Regions from separate parts of the Homo sapiens genome. Here region 2 is linked to region 1. Evidence: promoter capture Hi-C in 16 types of primary human blood cells and fetal thymus (Javierre and others, 2016). All regions are on one chromosome and are shown on one strand. Each heading gives the region's core, a stretch centred on a gene start or on the middle of the fragment in contact. The rest is flanking DNA. Distances are from core to core; before and after follow the strand shown. Region 1 holds the start of TMEM150C (transmembrane protein 150C). Region 2 overlaps SCD5 (stearoyl-CoA desaturase 5).

The links. The method cuts DNA at HindIII sites, captures the fragments that hold promoters and counts their contacts. A CHiCAGO score of 5 or more calls a contact.
Region 2: a fragment that was not itself captured here is called in contact with the fragment with the promoter of TMEM150C in region 1 in 1 of 17 cell types (M2 macrophages); the score reaches 5.3 in M2 macrophages.

Annotation. Positions count from the first base shown.
Region 1 is chr4:82,559,384-82,566,117 of GRCh38, forward strand. It overlaps TMEM150C (transmembrane protein 150C), which reads right to left and starts at 2,605. Exons shown (of 8, transcript NM_001080506.3): 1 at 2,523-2,605. RefSeq lists an enhancer at 2,331-2,830. The HindIII fragment of the contact is 8,598 bases long and covers 1-4,000 here.
Region 2 is chr4:82,681,807-82,688,540 of GRCh38, forward strand. All of the region lies in intron 2 of SCD5 (stearoyl-CoA desaturase 5), which reads right to left. Among named protein-coding and RNA genes, the nearest start is that of LINC00575, 64 kb to the left of the region's middle. The HindIII fragment of the contact is 1,540 bases long and covers 1,628-3,167 here.

The sequences.
Region 1 (6,734 bases), core at 1,355-3,854:
AAAATACAAAAAAAAAAAAAAATTAGCCAGGCATGCTGGTGGACGCCTGTAATCCCAGCTACTTGGGAGACTGAGGCAGGAGAATCGCTTGAACCCAAGAGGCGGAGGTTGCAGTGAGCTGAGATTGTGCCACTGCACTCCAGCCTGGGCGAGAGAGTGAGACTCCGCCTCAAAAACAAACAAACAAAAAAAGTAGGGACACACTTATTACACACCTGTGTCTAGTCCTACGCTTTTCATGAACTTAGACCTGGATTCAATAACACTTGGACCCTATAATGTTTTGGGAACTTCAGCACACATCTCATTGGACCCTTACCAGAACCTAATCACACCGTAGTGCTGATTCTAAGTGTTACAGATTCTTCTGTGAAAGGGGATGACTGAGAAGTAATACATTATCTTGTCAGTGCTTGTCTTGCTTAATTGGTTACTGAACTGATCCCAAATGGCCAGATTGCAGTGAAACCAAATGGCTGAGATTGCGGGGTCCAGCTAGCTTTTCCTCTCTCATGACTCCAGGCTGCCCTGCTAATCTGACCCACTGTACTAAAGAGGTGTGGGTCACAGGCGAGACAAAGCAGGAAGACAGACAAGAGTGTAAAGCAAAGGGCCTTCTCTCTTGACAATTGCAAAGCAGATAAAGTGAGCCCAAAAACCCCTGCAAGGTCATTGTGAACATGATTGTGGTAGTTCTACAACAAAGGCTAAATAGAACGCATTATTGTGTTCACGCAAAAAAAAAAATTACTCCATAGAGCAAATTATCCCCCCACAAAGCAACATGGAAAAGGTATTTGTAAGAAATGCATGAATTAAGCAATTGCTCTGAAGACTTAAATGCCAATTTAAATAATCCAAACAGATTGCATTCAGCTAATGGCAGATTATAATAAACATGCATTAAAGTGTTTTTCAAATACTTTAATATATTTGTGAATGTCATAACATCTATCAACTAGTCATTATTGTTAGCAAAACTTCTTTACCCTTTTATTTACCATGTCCAGTTTGTGAGCTTCCAACTTGGGGGACTTGCAAAACATTTATTAAATAATGTATAAAGGACACACCATTAAAATTCCTACGCTTATGCCTTGAAGATTAAACTCACATTTCTAGCTCATTAATAGATGACAGCTATAGTTAATCCTGGAAACATGGAGTCTCTAGAACACATACAAGAAAAAGTTTGGGATTTGATACATGAGAGCTGAGACTAAAATTCTTTGATCGGTCACATATATGGGCCTAACAATTTTTCCTTGAAATAGGAAACTTTAAGTAGGTCAGTTTAATGACTGCTACCATGGAGTTTATAAATCCACACTCAACTATCCTTTCGATGAACTGCTGCCCAGAATGGAGTTATAGCCCTGCACTATTAAAATGTCTTTGGTTCAAGCAGAGAAAGATGCAGAAACTGATCCTGCCATTTAGGCTTTGTTATTGTTTTAGATCCAATAACTGTTTGGTTTTGTTTTTCAACATGGCATTGGTATATCTGGTTCCCCAACAGGACCTCGCATGTAGGACATCGGAGTGGGTTCACTCGGGAAGATGGACTTCCATTCTACCTGAGCTATGTTCCCACATGCGGTCACAATCCTGGCCCAACCGTGAAAGGCGGTCTGGCCGGAATAAACCTGACCAAAAAGATCAGTGAAATGTGTGGGACATCATAAAGTGCTGTGGGGGTAGGGGTGGAGGAAAGGAATGAGTAGAGAAAAAAGGAGCATGAATTTAAAATGGGAAAACCCTCTCATACTCCATTTGATTCATTTAAGGAGGGGAAAACCACTCAAGGACTCTCTCCAGAACCCAAAGCTAATCACTTTTTTATTGCAGCAGATTACCAAAGAGCCTAGGTAACCCACCTACCACGGCCTCCCGCCGAAAAACCAAAAATCCCATTTCTTCCCAAGTGTGCGCCCAGGAAAGGAAGGAAGACTGTGCATTTAGAGTGGAGGGCGGTACACAGGGCAAAGCAAGTTAGTGCCTCCTTCCCAGATCCCCTGCTTCCCGAGCCAGCCTGACCTGGCTAACCGCAAAGTGCAGGGAGAATGGCACAGGGACCGGGAGGTCAAACTTGGGGTCGCTTCTCACCCGAGTCCACCCGATAACGAGATGATGGGGCGGCGGGTGGGGACACCTGTCAAAGGACGGGGCCGGGGCCGGGGCCGGGGCCGCAGCGGGCGGGCTGGCTGGCGGCACTGCGGCGGCGGGGACCGAGGCGCGCCGGCTCGGGCGTTCGCAGGTCGCGGGGCAGAGCCGGCACCGACTCCTGGACTTGCCGGGGAGCGTGCGCCCGCGGAGGGCTCGGGCGGGCGGCCCCGCGCCCGGGACGCTATGGGAGGGGGCCGCAGCCGAGCAGGGCCCCGCAGCCGGGCGGACCCAGCCGCCCCAGCCGCGCTGCAGCCCCCGCCGTCCCCGGTCTCCGCCTGCGGGCTGCGCACGGGGCCGGGCCGGACGCCCCCTGGCTGCGCGACGGGCCCAGGCAGGGGAGGGGGCGCCGCGCCTACCTGCTCTGGTGCGGCGGGGCCGCTGTCGCCTCGAGGGGCTGTGACCTGCTGCGGTGGCGGCGGCGGCAGCAGTAGCGGCGGGTAGGGCGCTTCCTTCAGGAAGGGGTGGGATCTGCTCACCCGCCCGCCCGGCCCCCTCCTGCCGCGCCGGGGCCCGCCCCCGACTTATTCTGGGGTCCCCGCTGCTAGGCCTTCGGGGAGAGTTGATCCCCTGGGTCTCGGGCTTCTGCCACCCCCCCGGGGCCCCTAATAGTCACCCGGGGCAGGAGCCGGGTGTGGGCGGGCGAGCCGCTTCCTTCCGAAGCCTTTGTGGACGCGTTTGCCTGGCGCTCCTCATCCAACAAAAGGAAGGACAGAATCTTGGATCCTCCGCCTGGTGGTTATTTATTCCTGACCTGTTGTAACCTTCTGCCTGGCTCTCTTTCGTCCGCACACCTAGGGTTTTTGCACAAAGCAGCTAAAATTCATTTTCATGCCCATTGACTGAATGTAGTTCTCCTCCACTCAGCGCTGTCCCGCGGTTTTTGGTTTTTTTTTTTCCATCCTATTGAACAAACACAGAGCCAACTTCGGACCCTGGCAATGAACAGCAGACACCAAGGCCGACCTCCCAGCGCCAGCTTGCAGCTTTCCTCCCTGGGTCTCGTCTGAGTCCGTCATAAACTGTGTTCATCAGCGTTTTGACAGCTTCCCCCATCCCGGACCCCCAACCTACCATGGGACCCCATGGCACCATGTCAGTGACCTCTAGCAGCAGCATGGATCAATGCCATTTTTATCTTAGGCTCATCATGAGCCTGGGTTCCAAACACAACCTCTCTGGCCTCCAACAGGTGGCTCTCTATCAACCGGCCTTTGTCAGTCTGCCCTCTATTCTTTTGGGGGCTTCCGTAGCACACCTGTCTCCTTTAAACTGCTGTCTCTACACAAGCAGGCATTCCCTTTTTTTCTTTTTCTTTTTCTTTTTCTTTTTCTTTTCTTTTCTTTTCTTTCTTTTTTTTTTTTTTTTTGAGACGGAGTCTTGCTCTGTCGCTCAGGCTGGAGTGCAGTGCCGCAATGTCGGCTCACTGTAACCTCTGCCTCTCGGGTTCAAGCGATTCTCTCGCCTCAGCCTCCTGAGTAGCTGGGATTACAGGCGCCCGCCACCATGCCCGATTAATTTTTGTATTTTCAGTAGAGGCGGGGTTTCACCACGTTGGCCAGGCTGGTCTCAAAACTCCTGGCCTCAAGTGATCCGCCTGCCTCAGCCTCCCAAACTGCTGGGATTACAGGCGTGAACCACCGCGCCCGGCCCAACCAGGTGTTTCTAAGAATCTTCTCCAATTCAGCATATTCAAATTCTGCAATTAACGTTCGGTTCCAGAACTCTCCCTTCCCCACAATTCTTGTGATTATTGTCTACTATGTGTATATTGATTCTTTTTTTTTTTCTGTATGTTGATTTCTTGTTACTGTTTTCTCCTGGCTACTAGACTGTAAGCTTCCTGAGACCAGGGATCTTGCCTTCTCTTGTTTTCCTTATTTTAATGAGTGGGACTGTTATCCATTCAATTAAAATAGCAAAAGCAAAAACTGAATCTTAGTCTAGACTCCCTTGAAAGTATATGCTCAATTTTGTGGGAATTAGCTTATGTGTACTTTTCTGAGGAGAGTAACTACACATTAATCAGACCCTCAAAGTGGTCTGACTCCCCCAAAGGTAAGATTGCTTGAGGCCCATCCATGAACCCCTCCTCTCTCTACTCCCTGTCCCCATGCCATTCATTTCTCTCTGCAATAACGGAAAGAGTCCTCTAGCTAGATCTTCCAATTCATTCTTTCAGAAGTAGATCCAGCCAAAGAATTAGCTGTCCCTCAAACACAGAAGTGGTACTCTGTTTTCACATCAGAATCACCAGTGGGGGCTTTAGAAAATGATGCCTGGGTTCACCTCAGACCCAGAGTCAAAACCTGATTGGAGGTGGCGGGGGAAACCAGAACACAGGTATTTTGACAAAGAACCGCAGGTGATTCCGACATGGCCATGCCATATCACTCCCTTTCTTGGGAATAGGGCTCCCAATTTGTAAAATGCCCTTACTTTCCCCTCCCCCATTTTTTTGTGGAAGGATTGAGAATCCATGCACCAGGTTTAATTTATTTCAACATTTTCATTTTCATTTAGAGCCAGGCCTATGTTTCCTAAAAAAAACCAACTTGAGTTTGTGAGGATCGCAGGCTCAGTGCCATTCCTCAGCACCACTAAATCACCGCCGCCTTCATCTCCAAAATGTCCCTCCAAATAAACCCAAAAAGCAAAATGAATTACATTCCTGACAGTGATATTACCAGCTGAAATTGTGTGTTAAAATGCTGGCCATGAAGGAGAGTTGGTTGCTATAAGCAGATTCTGTTAATGTCATGAGAGTTCGAGCGAAGCTTCGAGAGTACAAGCAAAACATGGGCTTCTCTGTGCCTTTTTCTTGGTATCCCATCTGTTAAAATTTGTTGTCCACCATGTACTCAATATACCCTTAGATATTTTAAATCATATATGGGTGTAAGACTGAAATACTTTTCCAGAACCGGTTGTCCTTTTTTCTTTTGAGTATTTTTTGGGGGATGAATTTTAAATGAATCTCTGAAGGCTTCCAGCCAGCACTTGCTTCTACCTCACAAAGACCATTAAAGGCCCCAAGGCAGCTTGGTCCTGAGTATTTGGGGAGTGAGAGTGAGGAATTGTTGTGTTGATGAGGCAAGCACATATTTGTGAGGATCTTCCTACATCCTCTTCTTATTCCTTTTTTTTTTTCTTTTTTTTTTTGAGGTGGAGTCTCGCTCTGTCGCCCAGGCTGGAGTGCAGTGGTGCGATTTCGGCTCACTGCAACCTCCGCCTCCCGGGTCCATGCCATTCTCCTGCCTCAGCCTCCCGAGTAACTGGGACTACAGGTGCCCGCCACCACGCCTGGCTAATTTTTTTTGTATTTTTAGTAGAGACGAGGTTTCACTATGTTAGTCAGGATGGTCTCGATCTCCTGACCTCGTGATCTGCCTGCCTCGGCCTCCCGAAGTGCTGGAATTACAGGCGTGAGTCACCGCACCCGGCCTCTTACTCCTTTTTATAGGAAGCTAGCTCTCGGAGTATGTGCTATGCCTTGGCATCACTTGGGAGGTTGTCACATTGGTCCATTATAAAATGTGACATTGAATAAAGGTTCTGTCCCACTTCTGCCTCCAATTCAAAGGCCATCTCTGGAATGGCCATTGGCAGTGAAGGATTTAGGTTCTCTGTCTAACATCTGCAGCACTCCCCCTGTTCCCAAGAACTCCTACACCACTGAGCTTGGTTCTGCCCTCTCATATGTGAACTCTCTTCCTCTTATTCTCAGAACTCTCATGTGTGTCCTACTGATGGTAAGGAGTTTGATCACAACTGGCTGTCTTTTTAAAAATTGCATACAAATATTCATTTTGTACCTTTAAATGATCTGTTGATATGTTCCAAAGTGATTCAGTCTGTGAGGAAAGACCAAGCACAGAGTTAGAGACTGGGGCATGGAAGAAATAGAGCGTAAGGCCCAGAAAGAGATGCCAGCCACAAACTTTGTAAAATTTTGTGTCAAATGGAGATCCATACTCAGAGACATCAACATTCTACAGAACCACAACGAGGCATCCTAATTTCAACACCATGTTGTTCTACAAGGCTGATGTCCTAACTCTGGTGCACAGCACAAACATCCATCTATCTGAGTTGGGGGGCGGTTTCCTGATATAAATGAATTTATTATCTAACTGAAACCACTACAGAACATTTAGAATTACAAAGAAATTTTATATTCTTGCTCATTTTCTTTCTCTTGGGCAGTCAATTTGTTTTTGTTATTTTATGATTCAAATCACTTCCCTAATTCATTTGAAAAAACAGAATTGAGAAGCACAGCTCATAAATAACGCTCTCAGGGATTCTGGAAATCCCTGCTGCTGGTCCAATTGCAATGACTTTCATTATAATAAAAATCTCTGTATAACGAAGTTATTGCCAAACCTTATCCAACAACTGGTAATCCAAGTAGTCTCTGATAAACAACAAAATCAGCTGGGCGCAGTGGCTCACACCTGTAATCCCAGCGCTTTGGGAGGCTGAGGCGGGCGGATCATGAGATCAGGAGATGGAGACCATCCTGGCCAACATGGTGAAACCCTGTCTCTACTAAAAATACAAAAAATTAG
Region 2 (6,734 bases), core at 1,148-3,647, 120 kb after region 1:
GGATGAAATCTTGGTTGTCATAAGAGAGGGGCAGTCCTGAGTAGGAATGGTGCCGGTTCTTGGCCCAGATGTCTCTGCCTCTCTCCTCACTTTGGTGTTCTTCATGTGTGACTCACAGAGATCAGGAAGCCAGTAGTTTAAAAAAACCCAAATGGCTACTTCCCCAAATCTCTGCAAAATACCAAGGCACCAGTGGCATCATTTTAGGACTGCTCTAACAGAGTGTAACAGAAACAGAAGGGGGACAACTTTGGCTCCTTGGGAACCTGGTGTATTGGCAATCCACCAAGTGGAGAGGCAGCAGTGGCTGAGGAACAGGGCAGCACTCACTGGAGCCCTGAGACAGACTCTGGTGCCCCTAGAAGGACAGGCAGCAGAGTCCAGCAGAGTCTGCCCAGCCCACAGAGCTGAAGTAGGGCTCAGTGCATGTGGGGAGCACACCCTATTGGACTTCTCATAATGGGAGACACGGGAGGGTGTCAGGGGCTGAGCTATCAGGGGCCAAGAATTGATGGCATTCACTGTTACAATTAATGAGACCTTAGCTATAGCAATGAGTCAGTGAGATCTACAGACGTTTTTTTACACTAATTTTTTTTTAAATCTGATGATGCTTTCAAAACTTTGAGAAGATGAATTAAATTGGGAAGCAGTGCTTTTGATAGGAAAATCTGAAAATAAAAATAAATTTAAGTATTATATTACATTAGCCTTTTCTGATTATGACAATAGTAATAATATTTTATACCATAATATTCAATACTGGGTAATGTTCTCATTAGGAGTCTACCATTTCATAGAGATTGGCTTCATCCTTCTGATGAGAAGGGAAGAAATTGTTTTGTTTTTGTTTGTTTTTTGAGACAGTCTTGCTCTATTGCCCAGGCTAGAGTACAGTGGTGCAATCACATAGCTCTCTGTAGCCTTGACCGTCTGGGCTCAAGTGATCCTCCCACCTCAGTCTCCCAAGTAGCTGGGACTACAGGTGTATGCCACCATGCCCAGCTAATTTTTTGTTTTTCTTTTTGAGACGGACTCTTGCTCTGTCGCCCAGGCTGGAGTACAGTGGTGTGATCTTCGGTCCCTGAAACCTCCGCCTCCTGGGTTCATGCAATTCTCCTGTCTCAGCCTCCCGAATAGGTGGGATTATAAATGTGCGCCAACAAATCCAGCTAATTTTTCTATTTTTAGTGGAGATGGGATTTCACCACGTTGGCCAGGCTGGTCGAAAATTTTAAAAATCCACCTAATCCTTGGGTTTTGGGGGAGAGAAAAAGGAGGCAGAAAGTTCCGACAAGCATATGTTCAGCTTTGAATATAAAGAGAGAAAACAGGAGCATGGCGGTTTATGTATATCAAAAATTATAGCCTGGCTTACTGTAATATGAAAGAGGTCTTTAGATTTTACAGTGTATTTAAACATGGTGGTTGGACAGAGTGAAAACATTTTATTATTTAGAATCACAGAATTTGGAGGTGTAAAATAATTTCAAATGTCAATCAAGACTGCTGTGGTCTAAGAAATAATTTCTTCCTTTTGCATTAGTTTATTGCTTTTATTGTAGTGCCCATGTGAACACGACATAGAAAGAACACTCTGTCCCCCATTCACAGATGGCAAAATTAAAGCTTAGAGGACATTTATATAAGTTCATCCAACAAATCAAAACATAATAGAACTAAGATGGCATTTCCTTGGTTCTCAGTTCACATTTCCATCAACAAAATATTTCCCTTACTCTCCAAATGTTGCAGGGAGGGATCTTTTATGGAAAACTTTCTTTCATCTTGTTAAAAGGTTATATTGGCTTGATATGGTTTGGCACTGTGTCCCCACCCAAATCTCATCTGTAACTGTAATCCCCATGTGTTGAGGGAAGGACCTGGTGGGAGGTGATTGGATCATAGGGTCAGTTTCCTCCATGCTGTTCTCATGATATTGAGTGAGTTCTCACGAGATCTGATGGTTTAAAAGTGTGTGGCAGTTTCCCCTTTGCTCTCTCTCTTGCTCTACCATAGTAAGACATAGCTTGCTTCTCCTTCACCTTCCACCGTGATTGGAAGTTTCCTGAGCCCTCCCCAGCCACGCAGAACTGTGAGTCAATTAAACCTCTTTTCTTTATAGATTACCCAGTCTCAGGTAGTTATTTATGGCAATGTGATAATGAACTAATACATGGCTGTTTAATTCAATGTCATGCAATCTTGTAGAAACTCTAAGTGAAGAGTTTCAAATAGCTAGAAACATTATTCTCACAAAATTAATTATAATACAACAACAATGAAAAGACCCATCATGATGAAGAAAAGTTCAAACAGAGATATTTATTTTCATTCCTTTCACCTGGATACCTTTCCAACAGAAGCTACCTGACTGCAATAGTGGAATGAAGCAAGTATAACAGTGGAATGAAGCACATTCCAAATAATCAAGCACATAATGAAGCCAAAAATACTTTAAGATGTATTTTTTAATCCTTTGTTATTGTTTTGTTTTCAAGTGTAAAGCTGAGTCCAGTGAAAAATGACTCAAAGAATAAGATGTGTTTTGTAGTTCTTGGGAACTTGGTAATAAATAAATTAAAAAAAGAAATTAAAGAACAAGATGTGCATCAACAATAGAGCAGAAAGGGAGCAAGATTTATATGTTCACCCAATCAATCACCTTTCTTCCCTACTTACCTGCACTTTTGTCTGCTCTGGAGTGATTGGGAGTGGGTGGGTAGGGGAAAGAACCTACCTGTGAATAGCATTTGTGTTGAAAAGGTTTGGGTACCTAGAGCTCATTTTGGTACAGTCAGTATGTGCTTTAGCAACAAGAAGAGGGGAAAGCTGAGGATTAATGAGGAGGGAGAGATGGCCCAACCATCTCAACCTTGGGAGGCGGGGAGTGAATGGAGATCAACTGTACTGGAAGCCATACCCCCAGCGGTATCCTGATAATCTCTCTTCCTCTTAGTGTTTGCATGGTGCTGATAGCTCTTGTCTAAAACTATGTGTGCCACTCCATCACCTTTGCTGCACGGGAAACAAAAACAATATTAAGGCATACAGAGATGACAAATGCCCATCATGAACTGACTGTCAAGTATGGGTAATCTGTCTGTTCATGTTCCATGTACATATTCTGGTAGGGACATGATGTTGAACTCAGCAGTAATTCCTGAAGCTTAGATACTTAAACATTCAAACAAATCAATTACCAAATTATTGTATTAAATTTGCAACTTAGAGTTTATACTGAATTGTAGGTTCCAGTAGATCACAGTCTTACTCTGCAATCCATTAAAAGTGCACTCTCACCACATGTTAATTGATTATTCCTGATAAAAAATTGGAATACTGAAGGGAGCTACATTAGTTCTAAGAACGCTGGGCATAAATGAGGCACAGGTAGGTGGGCGAGCGAGAGAGGAGTAGGAACAGAACAAATCCGGAGTGTAGAGCTCAGGTGGTAGGCTTCATTAGCAGAGACGCCATACTATAGTCCTACTTTGCAATAGAAATATAACTCAAGCCACATAATATAACTAATATTTTCTTAGTAGCCACATCTAAAAAGTGAAATGACCCTTGATTGAACTTGGGCTACAGAAAAAATTAATAAAATAAAAGGTGAAAAGAGGCTGGGCACGGTGGCTCATGCCTGTAATCCCAGCACTTTGAGAGGCCGAGGTGGGCGAACCACCTGAGGACGGGAGTTCGAGACCAGCCTGGCCAACATAGTGAAACCCCATCTCGACTAAAAATACAAAAATTAGCCGGGCATGGTGGTACGCGGCTGTAATACCAGCTACTCGGGAGACTGAGGCATGAGAATCACCTGAACCTGGAAGGCAGACATTGCAGTGAGCGAGATCACACCACTGCACTCCAGCCTGGGTGACAGAGCAAGACTCTGTCTCAAAAAACAAAACAAACAAAAAAAAAAACTAAAAACAAAAAAAGTGAAAAGAAACAAGTAAAATTAATTTTAATAATATATTTTACTTAGTGTAACATACCCAAATATTATCATTTCAATGTATAATCAGTATAAAAATTATTGAGATGCTGTACATTATTTTTTTTCCGTACCAAGTCTTAGAGATTTTTCACTTGTAGCACACCTCCAGGGGCTTGCCGCATTTCAAGTGCTCAGTAGCCACACGTAGCTAGTGACTACCACACTGAGCAGTGCAAGTCTAACTCATGGCTTATGCACTTTTTTTTTTTTTGAGACAGGGTCTCTCTCTGTCACCCAGGCTGGAGTGCAGTGGTGTGATTATGGCTCACTACAGCCTCAACTACCTGGGCTCAAGCGATTCTCCCATCTCAGCCTCCCCAGTAGCTGGGACCACAGGCACATGCCACTATGCCCAGCTAATTTTTTTATTATTTGTAGGGATGGGGTCTCACTATGTTACCCAGGCTGGTCTTAAACTTCTGGGCTCAAGGGATCCTCCTGCTTCAGTCTCCCAAAGTGCTGGCATTACAGGCATGAGCCACTGCACCCAGCCACTTGTACGCTTTTCAATGTGTGCATTATACTTCAAATTTAAAAGTTTGAAGAATTAAGAATTCAATGCTGCCTACTGGTGAGAATGTGAAATGGGCAGAAAGTGTGTGAAGGGCAAATGAGCACTACATATCAAAAACCCTAAAATTGTGCATATATTTTCATCTAACAATTCACTTTCTGGAGTTTATCTTAAGGAAATCATGGTTGTGTTCAGAGATTTAACCACAAGGATGCTAACTGCAATAAAAACTTGGAAAGACCCTGCATTTCCCCATAACAGGATTTGATTAAATATTTTGTGATAAATTAATTAAATAGTACTTGTGTGTGTATACATATACAATAAAAGCTTATATATACATGAAAGAAATAGTAAGAGAAAAAGCCTTAGTGTTACCTCATGGGAATGAAATTGGGAGGTAGGAATGAGGAGAAATACTTTTATGCTTGATCCTATACTCTGAAATTATTAGAAAGAATTCTACTAGTGTTGTATTAAAAACTAATTAACAAAAAAAAGGCTATTGTAGTATTGACCTAGAAAGATGAAGGTAAAAGTAGTTAAAAGAAAAGTACTTCTTCGCCGGGCAGGGTGGCTCACACCTGTAATCCTAGCACTTTGGGAGGCCAAGGCAGGAGGATCACTTGAGATCAGGAGTTTGAGACCAGCCTGGCCAATATGGTGAAACCCTGTCTCTACTAAAGGTACAAAAATTAGCTGGGCATGGTGGTGGGCACCTGTAATCCCAGCTACTCGGGTGGCTGAGGCAGGAGAATCGCTTGAACCTGGGAGGCTTAGGTTGCAGGGAGCTGAGATTGTGTCACTGCACTCCAGCCTGGGCAACAGAGTAAGACCTTGTTACAAGAAAAAAAAAAAAAAAAGAAAGAAAGAAAGAAAAGAAAGAAAGAAAGAAGAAAAGTACTTCTCAAAACACTATGAATCCATTTTTAATAAAAAATATAAGTTTAAGCATGGGAAAAACAAAAGAAGTATCTTAGCCAAACTGTTTGCAGTGGTTCTCTCTAGGAATTGGGACTGTGGGTGACTCTTTTTTATTTTGTCTGTGTTTTGTAAATTTTTATAATAAACAGATTATTCTTTTGTAATACAGGAGAAACAAGTTATTTTTGAAAACATTTCTATATTCCTGAATGAAAACAACCCAGCTTCTCCTCGATGAAGCAGTTAAGATTCATCTGGCAATCCAGTCTGTTAATACACCTTTATGTCATCCTTCTTCTATCTTTATTCTCGTTAGCAACTAATCAACCAATCACACGTCAAGTGGTGTGGCAGTGCCCTCGCTTGAACCCATTCTGTATTTTGTGCCTCCATTACTTCACTATCCATGATTGATAACATACCTAAGTGGGGTCTCCACTGAAACTGTAGAAATTGAAATTGACCATGAGGTGATTTTTCTCCCACGCACAGCCTTTGAGTGTTATCTGGGACTTGAGCAAAGGTCATCAATCTCAAGAGTCCACCGAAAAGAGGTATGAAGCAACCTGCTCCTTCAGAACTACTCCCCAGCTTCCTTTTATGTTCAAAATAAATTCTCGAATCTAGTCATCTAAATGGCAACAGAGGACACTGTCTTTTAAGGCCCACATAATTTCCACTGGTTAGCAAGATGAAGGCTAAATGTAAACAGCATTTAGCTTGTCCCATTCAGCAGATCTGAAACCAGAATCATTGATTGGTTTTCCCCTAGCCTAGCTGGAAACAGTTGCTTGCTCCCAACCAGACACCAAGATGGTTTTGCTATCCCTTAATTCAATTTTGTGGCTGTTTAAAGTTCCAGAACAAAAAACTTCCCAAGCAGTCTCAAAACATAGCCAAAGGGAATTCCACTTGTATTCATAACACATCTTTGTTTCCAGTCAGTAGTGAAAAAGAAACCAGGACCAACATGTCAACATGTCAGCTTGAACAGGCAGGTTTTAGAGTAGAAAATATGCGTGTGCATGCATGCATGTACATGTGCATGTGCGTGTGCGTGCGTGTGGTGTGTGTGTGTGTCTGAATGGCATCCTTTCTGGGAAAGGAGCTGTTCTATCAAGAGGGTCAAATAGAAAAAGATACTGGTGGCTCCACTCCTTAGAAACTGTAAGGCTTACTAGAGATAGACTTTATCTCTGTCTCTGGGGTCTAAACTTAATCTCCTCCAGTTCAGACGCCAATTCAAACAGTGAAAAACAATGTTGGGTGCTTTCCCCATTGTTGATACGG